Regions from separate parts of the Homo sapiens genome. Here regions 2 and 3 are each linked to region 1. Evidence: promoter capture Hi-C in 16 types of primary human blood cells and fetal thymus (Javierre and others, 2016). All regions are on one chromosome and are shown on one strand. Each heading gives the region's core, a stretch centred on a gene start or on the middle of the fragment in contact. The rest is flanking DNA. Distances are from core to core; before and after follow the strand shown. Region 1 holds the start of UBR2 (ubiquitin protein ligase E3 component n-recognin 2). Region 2 holds the start of TAF8 (TATA-box binding protein associated factor 8). Region 3 overlaps TOMM6 (translocase of outer mitochondrial membrane 6).

Region 1 (3,250 bases), core at 400-2,899:
TTCTAGGCTGGGACAATCCCAGTTTTCTTCCAAGTTGACTCTGTCCTGAGTGGATCAGTGTAAGGAAGTTGGGCAAAAAAAGAAAAATACATAGAAGAATATTTCAAGATATCTCATTATAAATATCTGTACAGATATGTGCATACTTTTTTCTGGACAGACTCATAAGACAGTGTCAAAAATGATTTTCTTTGGGGAGAGGGACTTGGGGTAAGAGGAATAGGAAGTTTTCAATTTTCCTTTTTTAAAACATTCCTTTCGAGTTTGAATTTCTGATGTTTTATATGTATATATATATATAACTTTTAAAAAGTGATAAGAAGGCTTACTTGTATTGTGAGGTTACAGGGATACAGGCAGTTTCTTATTTCCTTTTTTAAAAAACTGGTTAATATCATAGTATTGGTTTAAAAAAAATCCCAAAACAACATAAACATAAACATGTCCTAAACCTGGTCTGGCTCAGAACTTTTCCCCCCTATATGTAATTTACAACCTACTTCTGGGAATAAATTAACACACTTGACAAAAGGTATAAACAATTTTCTGACAAACTCTAGAGACTGAAGACTTCTAAGAAGCCCAGTCACCCAGCTGTCAGTCAAGAGTCTAATTACCTTTAACTAAACATAGTTTTCTTTGATAGCTAGTCTAACAATGTTTACCTATTTCTTTTTTTTTTTTTTCCTTCTTTTTTGATACAGGGTCTCAGCTGTGTCACGCAGGCTGGAGTGCAGTGGGCTGATCACAGCTCACGATGGCCTCAACTGCCTGGGCTCAAGCAATCCTCCTGCCTCAGCTTCCCGAGTAGCTGGGACTACAGGCGTGCCACCACACCTGGCTAATTTTTTGATTTTTATCAAGAGGGTCTCGCTATGTTGTCCAAACTGGTCTCAAACTCCTGGGCTCAAGTAGTCTGCCCCCCTCGGCCTCCCAAAGTGCTGGAATTACAGGCATGAGCCACCAAGCTTGGTCTGATTATCTGTAGAAATTAAATGTCTCTATCAAGAGGAAATCTTTTAATTGGCCTAATAGACTCTTTTTCCTTTGCAGCAAGATTTGTGATAAAGTTTATAAGTGGTCATCACTAAAGTTTTTGAAAAATTTTTTAAAACATGTTTTAAACCTTCAAAAAAGTGGGTAATGTTCACCTCCATTACTCGTATAAAAGATATGGGTTCGATGGATGACAGGACATAGAACCACAGGAATAGAATGTAATTCATTCATTCCTTTGACAAGTATTTGAGTGCCTACCCTATGCCAGACTGGCAAGTCCTTGAGGGTCTACCATGTGCCAGGCAGTGTTCTTGAAGCTGGGGATACAAAAATGAACAAACGAGATTCGGAGAATAAAACTACAGTTCCCACAGTATCTTTCTCTTTGGCTTTTTTCCAGGGGGCGCTGCTTTCCGCGACTGTCTTCCCATGATTCTCGTTGGGCAGAAAAGCCCCGCCCGCTTATCTGCCATTTAAGCCAGCGCCCCTTGAGAATGGACTACAACTCCCACAATGCATTCGAGGGGCACCGTGTTAGGGCGCCACCTTTTTCCCGGCTGTGCTGTACCTACAGCACCCAGAACTACAGTACCCAGAAAGCTCCGCTTCCCCTCCTGGGTGTTATTGCCCCTTTCCTGGTGCAGGACGCGGTAGTGGCCAGCGAGAGTGTCAGGCCTGGGGTTTTCTGTGTCCTTCCCTGGGTCAGGGACGAGCCAGTGACTTGACTCTTGGGCGCTAAGCTTGGGAGGGAGCGCAGGAGGCCGCTGTCCTTCCTTTCCGGTTCACGTCACCCTTCTCTCCCTCTGTTGCTCCACCTGCAGCCACTTGGACGGCTCCGGGACTGATTGCCTGGGGCAGGGGTGGCAGTCGAGGCCGCCGGGGCCGAGGTGAGGCTGCAGCTCTCCGGGCGGCGGTAGCGCTGGGGAGGAGGAGGAGAGAAGATGGCGTCGGAGCTAGAGCCAGAGGTGCAGGCCATCGACCGGAGCTTGCTGGAATGTTCGGCCGAGGAGATTGCGGGGGTGAGTGCCGGAACCCGGGCGGGTGCGTCTGCCCCTCGCAGGCCGCGCCTGTGGGGAGGAACCGACTCCTGGACGTCCTGGAGCAGCCCGACCCAGACTTGGGGAAACAGCTGTGCCGGCCCTCGCCTTGTGGGGTAATAGCCCGGGGAGGCCACCGATCCTGCCCCTCTCTTTCCATTTTCAACAGCTGCCAGAGCTGCGCTGTGCACTAACTACGTTTACTTTCCCTTTCTGCCCAGGAGAACCCACGGCTCTTCCATCATACCTCCTTTCCCCCAGCCTCCCATTAAGTCTCCCAACACATGGGCCTTTGCCCTTTATATCAGCTCTTGGAAGAGGAGAAGAGACGCTTCTTGTGTTTTTGGTATAATCGCCCTAGTTTATCTAGTTAATTGCTTTTCCTGAGACAAGCGAAGCCGTGTGCTCCTCCGACTAAACATGCCACCCTAACCGAGCCCCTCTTTTGTTTTTGGGACTGCCCCAGGCACCAAGAAGGCAAACGACACTACCCTTCGTTATCCGTTTCAGTGCTATCTTTTTTTTTTGCACCGGTTTGATTAGTTGACAACGTTGATGCATGTGTGGAAAGTTTACTGAGTATGAGAAAGTAGTCGTGGAGTCTGGGAAATTTTAAAAATATTTTTTCTAGGAGTTAGGGGTAATTGGATGGAGAACAAATGTTATATAACGTTGATAGAGCAGCTTTCAACAAATACTGTATAAGCTAAACGTGAGAACTGGTCACAGTGTAGTAGGAGCAGTTATATTCCAAACGTAAAACCGTTCAAACGCACTATTGCATTAAAACTGTAATATGAATATGCTAGTGTAAATAGCAGAGTTGTAGGAACACCCATTAGAAGAGATTGCCGAGAATGATTATGAATGGACCAAGACAGCTTGGGCCCCACCTCTAAGACCTCCAATTAAAAAGGCTGCTAGGAAGGGAGTGACCCGTGAATAAAAGTCAGCAATCTGAATGCTACGAACAAAATTTGGGATTGGGGGCACTGTGGAGCTGTTGGTCAGTGAGTAGTTATTTTGCGTGAATTGGTGAGGACATTAAGTCCGGGTAGAAAGAAATGTCAGGAGTAGAGGTGAAGACTTTAAAGAAATACGTTGTTAAATGCTGAATCTTTGCTTGTTTGGGTGTGTTTTGTTGTTGTTTGTTTTTGTTTTTGAGACGGAGTTTCGCTTTCGATGCCCAGGCTGGAGTGCAGTGGCGCGATCTC
Region 2 (3,527 bases), core at 805-3,304, 510 kb before region 1:
CTACCCCGGTTTCTCCAGCACCCAAGCCTACCTCCTCGTCAGGTGACCTCCCCGGAGCACCGACTGGGGTCGCAGGCGCTCTGTCCCGCCGCCTCCGGAGCCTGCCTTTGGGGAGTGGGGGTGGTCGCAACCACCAGCCGCGAGGAGAGGATTGCACCTCTCCCCCCCGGCCGGCATCCGAACAGAGCCAGTCTCCACCCCTGCAGTGGCGAAGTGTTTACAAAGTCCGCGCCGCGCCGCCGATCCAGAGCTGGGCAGGAAGTGGGGAAGAGGGGGCGGAGGAGACAAAGGGGCTGGTGCTCTGCTCAGCCAAGTTTCGGTCCCCGGCCTGACTCTCCCACCCCCTGTACACCCTCGGCGAGGCCAGGAGGCTCATCCGGCGCCGCGCACCCCCGCCCGCAGCCCCCGCCCCACGCGGCATAGGTGCGGGGGCGGGGCGCCACGGAGGCTCAGGTGTGGGCGGCGGGGCCGGGGCAGCACGGGTTCCCGGACCGCTGCCTCCCGGCGTTGGCAACTCCTCCACGTGCTATCCAGGAAGTAAACAACATCATGAGGAGCGACTTCTTTTTCTTTTTCTTTTTTTTGAGATGGAGTCTCCCTCTGTCGCCCAGGCTGGAGTGCAGTGGCGCGATCTCGGCTCACTGCAACCTCCGCCTCCCGGATTCAAGCTATTCTCCTGCCTCAGCCTCCCGAGTAGCTAGGACTACAGGCGCACGCCGCCACGCCCGGCTAATTTTGTGTATTTTTAGTAGACACGGGGTTTCACCATGTTGGTCAGGCTGGTCTCGAACTCCTGACCTGAGGTGATCCACCCGCCTCGGCCTCTCAAAGTGCTGGGATTACAGGCGAGAGCCACCGCGCCCGGCCGATTTCTTGACTCTTACTACACGTCAGGCACTGTGACAGACTCTTTCTGTGTATCATCTCATCTTTCCCCCAGCTTTACAGAAGAGGAAACTGAGACACACTGAGGATTAAGGTCAAGTGCCCGAAGTACCATAGCTGGCTAGTGTTAGGATCCAAGCCCAGAATCTGCGTCCTGCCAGGCACCTGCAAATGGGGACGAACACGGCGCAGCTAGAGGGGCTGACAGGCTAGGGAGAAAACCACTGGTAGCCGCGGGCACCCCACGCCCTGGGAGTGAGGCGGCAAGGGACAAGTCTCCCGCCCCCTAGACTTGCCTCGCAAATACTTGCGGGTCGAGGGCGCGAAGGCAGCAGGATGCAGCGATAGACTTGGACTAGGTGGTCCAGGCTCTACTTCCAAGTGGGCCATTGACAGGCGGGGCGGCCCTCAGCACAAAATCACCAGGCTGGATGCTCCAGGGTTTCCCAACATTACTCGCTCAGAAGAATCATCTGGGGAGCTCCTTAATGAGAAAGATTCCCAAGCCCCTCTTCCAGAGAGTGAAGTCACTGGGATTGGGCTGGGCCCAGCCAGGTGTTACTAATAATAAGACAAGTTTGGAAAACCCTGCGAGTGTAGATGATCTCCTGGTATGCTCTTTATAAGAACCGATTTTCATATTAAAATAGGTTTCTTTTAACTCAGTGAAACCGGGCGCGTTTTCCTGGCCCACAACCAAGCCACTGAAGGCCCCAGAACACTTCACTCTCAAAAGGTCACGTGAGGCTGGCGCGGTAGCTCACGCCTGTAATCCCAGCACCTTGTGAGGCCGAGGCCGCGGACTGCTTGAGCTTAGGTGTTCGAGACCAGCCTGGCCAACATGGCGAAACTCGGTCTCTACTAAAAATACAAAAACTAGCGGGGCGTGGTGGTGCCCGCCTGTAATCCCAGCTACTCCGGAGGCTGAGGCGGGAGGATCGCTTGAGCCTGGGAGGTGGAGGTTGCAGTGAACCGAGATCGCGCCATTGCACTCTAGCCTGTGAAACGGAGCAAGACTCTGTATCCAAAAAAAAAAAAAAAAAGTCACGTGAGCCGGGGTCACCGGAGGCGTCCCCCAACCGACTGGGCTTCGGAAAACCAAGGGGCGCACGCCGCCCCGCCCCGCCCCGCCCCGCGACTACAAGTCCCATCGCGCCCCGCGCTCGCGCACACTACGCCAGAACAAGATGGCCGACGCGGCGGCCACAGCTGGGGCCGGTGGCTCCGGAACGGTAAGGGCAGGAAGCGCGGGCTCGGAGCCGAGAGAGTTTGGGTATCCTGCAACTTTCCCCTCGACTGAGCAACAAGATAATGCCCAGAAATTCAGCCCCATCATGAGCTCCGACTGGCGGAGGGTGTTTTCAGGCCGTAGGCGCCCCCTCCTTGGGACTTGGCTGCGGCCTCCGGAGTTGGCGGACCTGTGTCTTGATTGGCTCGTTCGCTGTTGGGGGTTGGGAGCCCGGAACACCCCCGATTGGTCTGAAGATGCCGTTTTCGCCTTCTTATTGGCCGGCCAAAGTTGAAAGGCATTCCCGTTTCAAAATATTTAGCTTTCTTACTTTTTTGTGCTTTTATCTTTTGCCCTCCTCTCCTCGCGGTCACCTCTTGTTACTGTTTTCATTTTCCCTTTCAATGAAATGGTGTGAAGATGGGAGGCACAAGAGAGGGATCCTGTTTTTTCTGCGGGACACGTCTTAATCCCATCATGCGTGTTTCTTCAGCTATGTATTCTAATAATCTGCTAAAGTAGAAAGTAAAAGACCTGCTATTTTATCTCATTGGGACTGTACGTTTTAGGTAAGCGGAGAAGTGGTCTCTGTATTTAAAGCACCTTGGGTGCTCAATTTTTACTCAGTTGGCCAAGATCTGTAAATCTAAACATTAAGCACTGATTTTTAAAATAAAATTATTTAGTAAAATAACTTTGCTTGCCGTTGACCACGTATGAACTATGTGATTGCATCCTTCTCCTGTGGATGAAAATCTCTCTGCTGATTCACAGAGATCGGGAAGTAAACAGTCCACTAACCCTGCCGATAACTATCATCTGGCCCGGAGGAGAACCCTGCAGGTGGTTGTGAGCTCCTTGCTGACAGAGGCAGGGTTTGAGAGTGCCGAGAAAGCATCCGTGGAAACGCTGACAGAGATGCTGCAGAGCTGTGAGTACATGGAAACACTTGGCCTTGGAGTCAACCCCAACATCAGTTCTGTGCCCTGCTTTGTGATAGTGTTTGAGAGGATTTAAGAAACAAACTTTTTTCTTAAGAGGGGAGAAAAAAAATTTTTTTTAATGTAAAAAGTTGAGAAAAGAAAACAGCACAATGGGCCGAGCGTGGTGGCTCACGCCTGTAATCCCAGTACTTTAGGAGGCTGAGGCGGGTGGATCACCTGAAGTCAGGAGTTCAAGACCAGCCTGGCCAACGTGGCGAAACCCCGTCTCTACTAAAAAACACACAAAAAAATTAGCTGGGCGTGGTGGCAGGTGTCTATAATCCCAGCCACTCGGGAGACTGAGGCAGGAGAATCGCTTGAATCTGGGAGGCAGAGGTTACAGTGAACTGAGATCGCACCACTGCACTCCAGCCTGTGAGGCTCCATCTCCAACAACAACAACAAAAACAGAAAAGAGCATAATGAAGTGA
Region 3 (3,478 bases), core at 47-2,546, 770 kb before region 1:
TTACTAGGCACAAAAATGAACTCCAAATTCCCACGTGGGTCTTGAGCAACCTGCCGTCACAACCACGTATCAACGCCTCGGGAAGGTGGTGATGGAAGCCTTTCCCCCCAGTACATTTCGTTAACTGTACAACTGACTCAGTGACCACAGGGTTAATAAAACACATTGTTTTTCCAGGAACTTGATACTAAATTTGGGACTCTTTGCTGCGGGAGTTTGGCTGGCCAGGAACTTGAGTGACATTGACCTCATGGCACCTCAGCCAGGGGTGTAGCCAAGTAGGTAAGCACTGAACTACACCCATGCGTGTCTTAGGAGACCTAGAGACTGGGTGAAGCAATGTTTTCTGTCAAGTATTCATGAAATGTACAAAAGAATGTGATGTAAAACCCTTAACTATTCCTAGTTAAATGTGTTTTCAGATGTTGAAAGGGATTTAAGTATCTCTTACCAGTTTCCCTCCCATACTTTTACAGTTCTAATGCCACCTGTCGTCTTATCATCTGATTGCAGACAAATGGAATCCTGTGCTGAACCCGAATCTTCCAAAAAACAGCCTACAATCTGTGACCACCACAAGATGTGCCCTGATGGCAGCTGAAGTTTGATTCAGATGGGCACTTTTCTTCCCCTTCCCTGCCTAGTTTCCTTTTGTTCCTTGAGTCCACGCAGAATTCCATTCTCTGGTCAGCAGACAGGCTTAAGCTAAAGTATTGCCTCTATTCTGTAAAGTTCTGTACATAGTTCCCAAGCTTCTGCAGGGGGTGATTTTTGCTCTTGTCCTGAGAAATAACAGTGCTGTTTTAAAAAACATTTGAAATAAATACCGCACACAAAGGCAGTCATTTTATTCTTTTAATAAGAAACTTTTGCTTACAAAAACAAGGTGTAAAAAGATTTACAAAAATCATAAAAACATGATTTATATTTCACACTTGAGAGACAAAAACAAGCCCCAAAACATGGATTTTAATGGAGGTGGTTTGCTTCATTTTAAAAGGGAAAAAAAAAAAAGGAAGCTGTAACCATACATTGATGTTAACCTAGCATGAAGTTTATTCTTGAAGAATTTACATTGTTGAGCAATATTAGGGGAAGAAGCCATTTGGTGTTGCATAGCATTTTAGTGCACCAGATGGGTTTTCCAGACACCAGGGAGGCATCATTGCTGGAATAGTGAGGTTTGGTGGCAGAAAGAGGGCAGTGATGTGTAGGGGGAGGCAAAGTGAAGTAAGCCTGGGCAGTGGTCACTAAAGTGACACTGCTGAGGCAGCTGCTTCCTTCAGAAGGAAATGTTTTGTGACCCTAAAATTCATGGTAGTGCTACTGTCCAGGGTTTGGGGGCTCTTTGGAAATGGAGTATGTACGGAACTGGCATGTATAGACTTATATAGCCATAGAAAGAGGTGGATAGAAACAGGTCCACCATGGCAATATTTTTTTCTGGCCAGTTTACTAGGCATTAAAAAAAATACTGCTTTTATGTGCCAAGTCTCTTATGGAACTAGTATGGGATTAAAGGACGTTAATTGGAAAGGAGGGTCAGTATATAAGGACCACAGTGGCCTGTTAAGGATGACAGATGTCTCTAGCAGTTTGTTCACTACTAAAGTTAAACAGGACAAAATAGTCTTTCCTGACCTTGCTGGCATAAATATTAAGAAAATTGTTTGAGAATTAGATTTTTTTAGTATGTATATAAAAACAGCACCATTCTTTGTATAAATCAGATAGATCTTATCTGATAGATGAAGCTAAGACCCTTTGAGTCTACACTGGGTTGACTCTGAGAGGTTTATATCTTATTGGGTATTAAGATAAAGAAGGGTCACATGAGAGCAAAGCTTAGCTTTGAAGCCATCACCTCCCAAATGGTGACCAAGGAGGAAACTTTTAAGCCATAGTATAGATGCTAACCCCCATTTAGACCTGCATCAGATCACTTGCTAAGACAAGAAATACCAGCACCTCCTGTTCTTTATAGGAATGAAACTTAGATCCTTAAAGGCTGCTACCTGATATACTCATGACTGGACAGTTTTGATAAAAACTTCCAAAATTGAAAATCAAAATCCAGCAAGAATTAAGACATGGCAGCTTCCAAAAGCATAATTCAAATTTCATTCAAAATTTACTGTTTTGGCTTCAAGTAAGTGTTTACTGTTGGTTGGGTTTTAAAGCCATAATTATGGTTGAGTAAGGATTCATTTATTTATTTATTAAATTTTTATACATTTTTGAAAAGATTTCAAATCTATGTTTCCCAGGCTGGTCTTGAGCTCCTGGCCTCAAGCAATCCTCCCACCTTGGCCTCCCAAAGTGTTGGGATTACAGGTGCTAGCCAACTGCATCCAGCCAATGTTTCATTTCAACTGGCTTAAATCTTCAAAGTGGTTAAGAATTTAGTAAATAAAACTACTTAATCTACAACTTTCAAAAATTGATGAGTAATCACTAATTCTGTAAATGAAGGAGTTGGACTTCACTATTGCCAAAGCAACATTTTCCCCAAGGAAAGTCAATTTGATATCCTGTCACACTTTTCAGCCCTGGCTAGTTAACACAGTACTATGAAAATCTTTAGCTAGATTTTAAACGAAATATGCCAGCAGAAGTATGGAATGAGTCCACAAAAATGAGTGCCTGCCACAATGCTATAGTAGCTATGGTGTATTTAGTGCAGAGTGTGGGATGAATAAGTACATAGTAATTAAAGTCATAGTCCTGGCCCAACAGAACAGTTACTAAATGTAAGATACAAACTAAACTCACAGTCATATTTAGAAGGCGCTTTTCAGCTTTAGCACTGACTTAAAAAGTCTGAACCACCAGGAAGATGCGTACTTAACTGGTTAAAAAATTAAGTGGCCCTGGAAAGTTTTACCCCAAAGATACAACTTCTTCACTTATTTAGTTCAGTAATGAGGCTGAGGGACCCAATTTTCAAGTGTGCATTTGAGTGGGAAACTTTTAAACACCATATGTTGAAGTTTCATGAGCTCAGTGGAAACCTTAAGGTCAGAGTAAAAGAAACTGGCTGTAAACAGCCCTGCAGTGAAGAGACTGGGTCTTAGCACCTTCCACATTCACTCAGCGCCATCTCAGTCAGCGCCTGCCAGGGAAAGGGCATGGAGAGCTGGGACGGGTGCCTTCTCTTTTGCACCACTCCCTTTGCATATTACACAGTGCACTGGCTTGCCTTACAATCTAAGGTTCACATACAGGGGGTTTTCTATACTGCTTCCGGACATTTTTTGCAAAAGAACATCAGAACCAATGAAGGTACCATTTCAGGAGGAATCATTTTTGTTTGACTTCTGCTATATGTTGCCCAGCATTAGTCATTGTTTTGATAAAGACTAAAAGGCCTTTTCTCAACATTTGTGCTCTCCCAACCACCTGGGAAAGCAACCCTTCCACTCACAAGAGGTAACCTCAGATAGGGATATAGTATTCATTTAAGAAGGGGTAGCCCCCC

Evidence for each region. Contacts are between HindIII fragments. The CHiCAGO score rates a contact against its expected background, and 5 or more counts as called.
Region 2: a contact is called between the fragment with the promoter of TAF8 here and the fragment with the promoter of UBR2 in region 1, in 1 of 17 cell types (erythroblasts). The highest score is 5.2, in erythroblasts.
Region 3: a contact is called between a fragment that was not itself captured here and the fragment with the promoter of UBR2 in region 1, in 6 of 17 cell types (total CD8 T cells, non-activated CD4 T cells, naive CD4 T cells and 3 more). The highest score is 8.7, in total CD8 T cells.

The regions. Positions count from the first base shown.
Region 1 is chr6:42,562,380-42,565,629 of GRCh38, forward strand. UBR2 (ubiquitin protein ligase E3 component n-recognin 2) reads left to right here and starts at 1,650. Exons shown (of 47, transcript NM_001363705.2): 1 at 1,650-2,018. The coding sequence starts at 1,941. RefSeq lists enhancers at 1,212-1,291, 1,362-1,881 and a silencer at 2,914-3,043. The HindIII fragment of the contact is 771 bases long and covers 967-1,737 here.
Region 2 is chr6:42,048,470-42,051,996 of GRCh38, forward strand. TAF8 (TATA-box binding protein associated factor 8) reads left to right here and starts at 2,055. Exons shown (of 9, transcript NM_138572.3): 1 at 2,055-2,117; 2 at 2,888-3,044. The coding sequence starts at 2,073. It also overlaps a transcript of CCND3 not described here. RefSeq lists a silencer at 292-541 and enhancers at 1,678-2,229, 2,011-2,560, 2,230-2,781. The HindIII fragment of the contact is 9,233 bases long and covers 1-3,527 here.
Region 3 is chr6:41,789,055-41,792,532 of GRCh38, forward strand. It overlaps TOMM6 (translocase of outer mitochondrial membrane 6), which reads left to right. Exons shown (of 3, transcript NM_001382294.1): 2 at 178-282; 3 at 514-841. The coding sequence ends at 274. USP49 (ubiquitin specific peptidase 49) reads right to left here. Exons shown (of 8, transcript NM_001286554.2): 8 at 842-3,478. Among named protein-coding and RNA genes, the nearest start is that of TOMM6, 3.1 kb to the left of the region's middle. The HindIII fragment of the contact is 1,092 bases long and covers 751-1,842 here.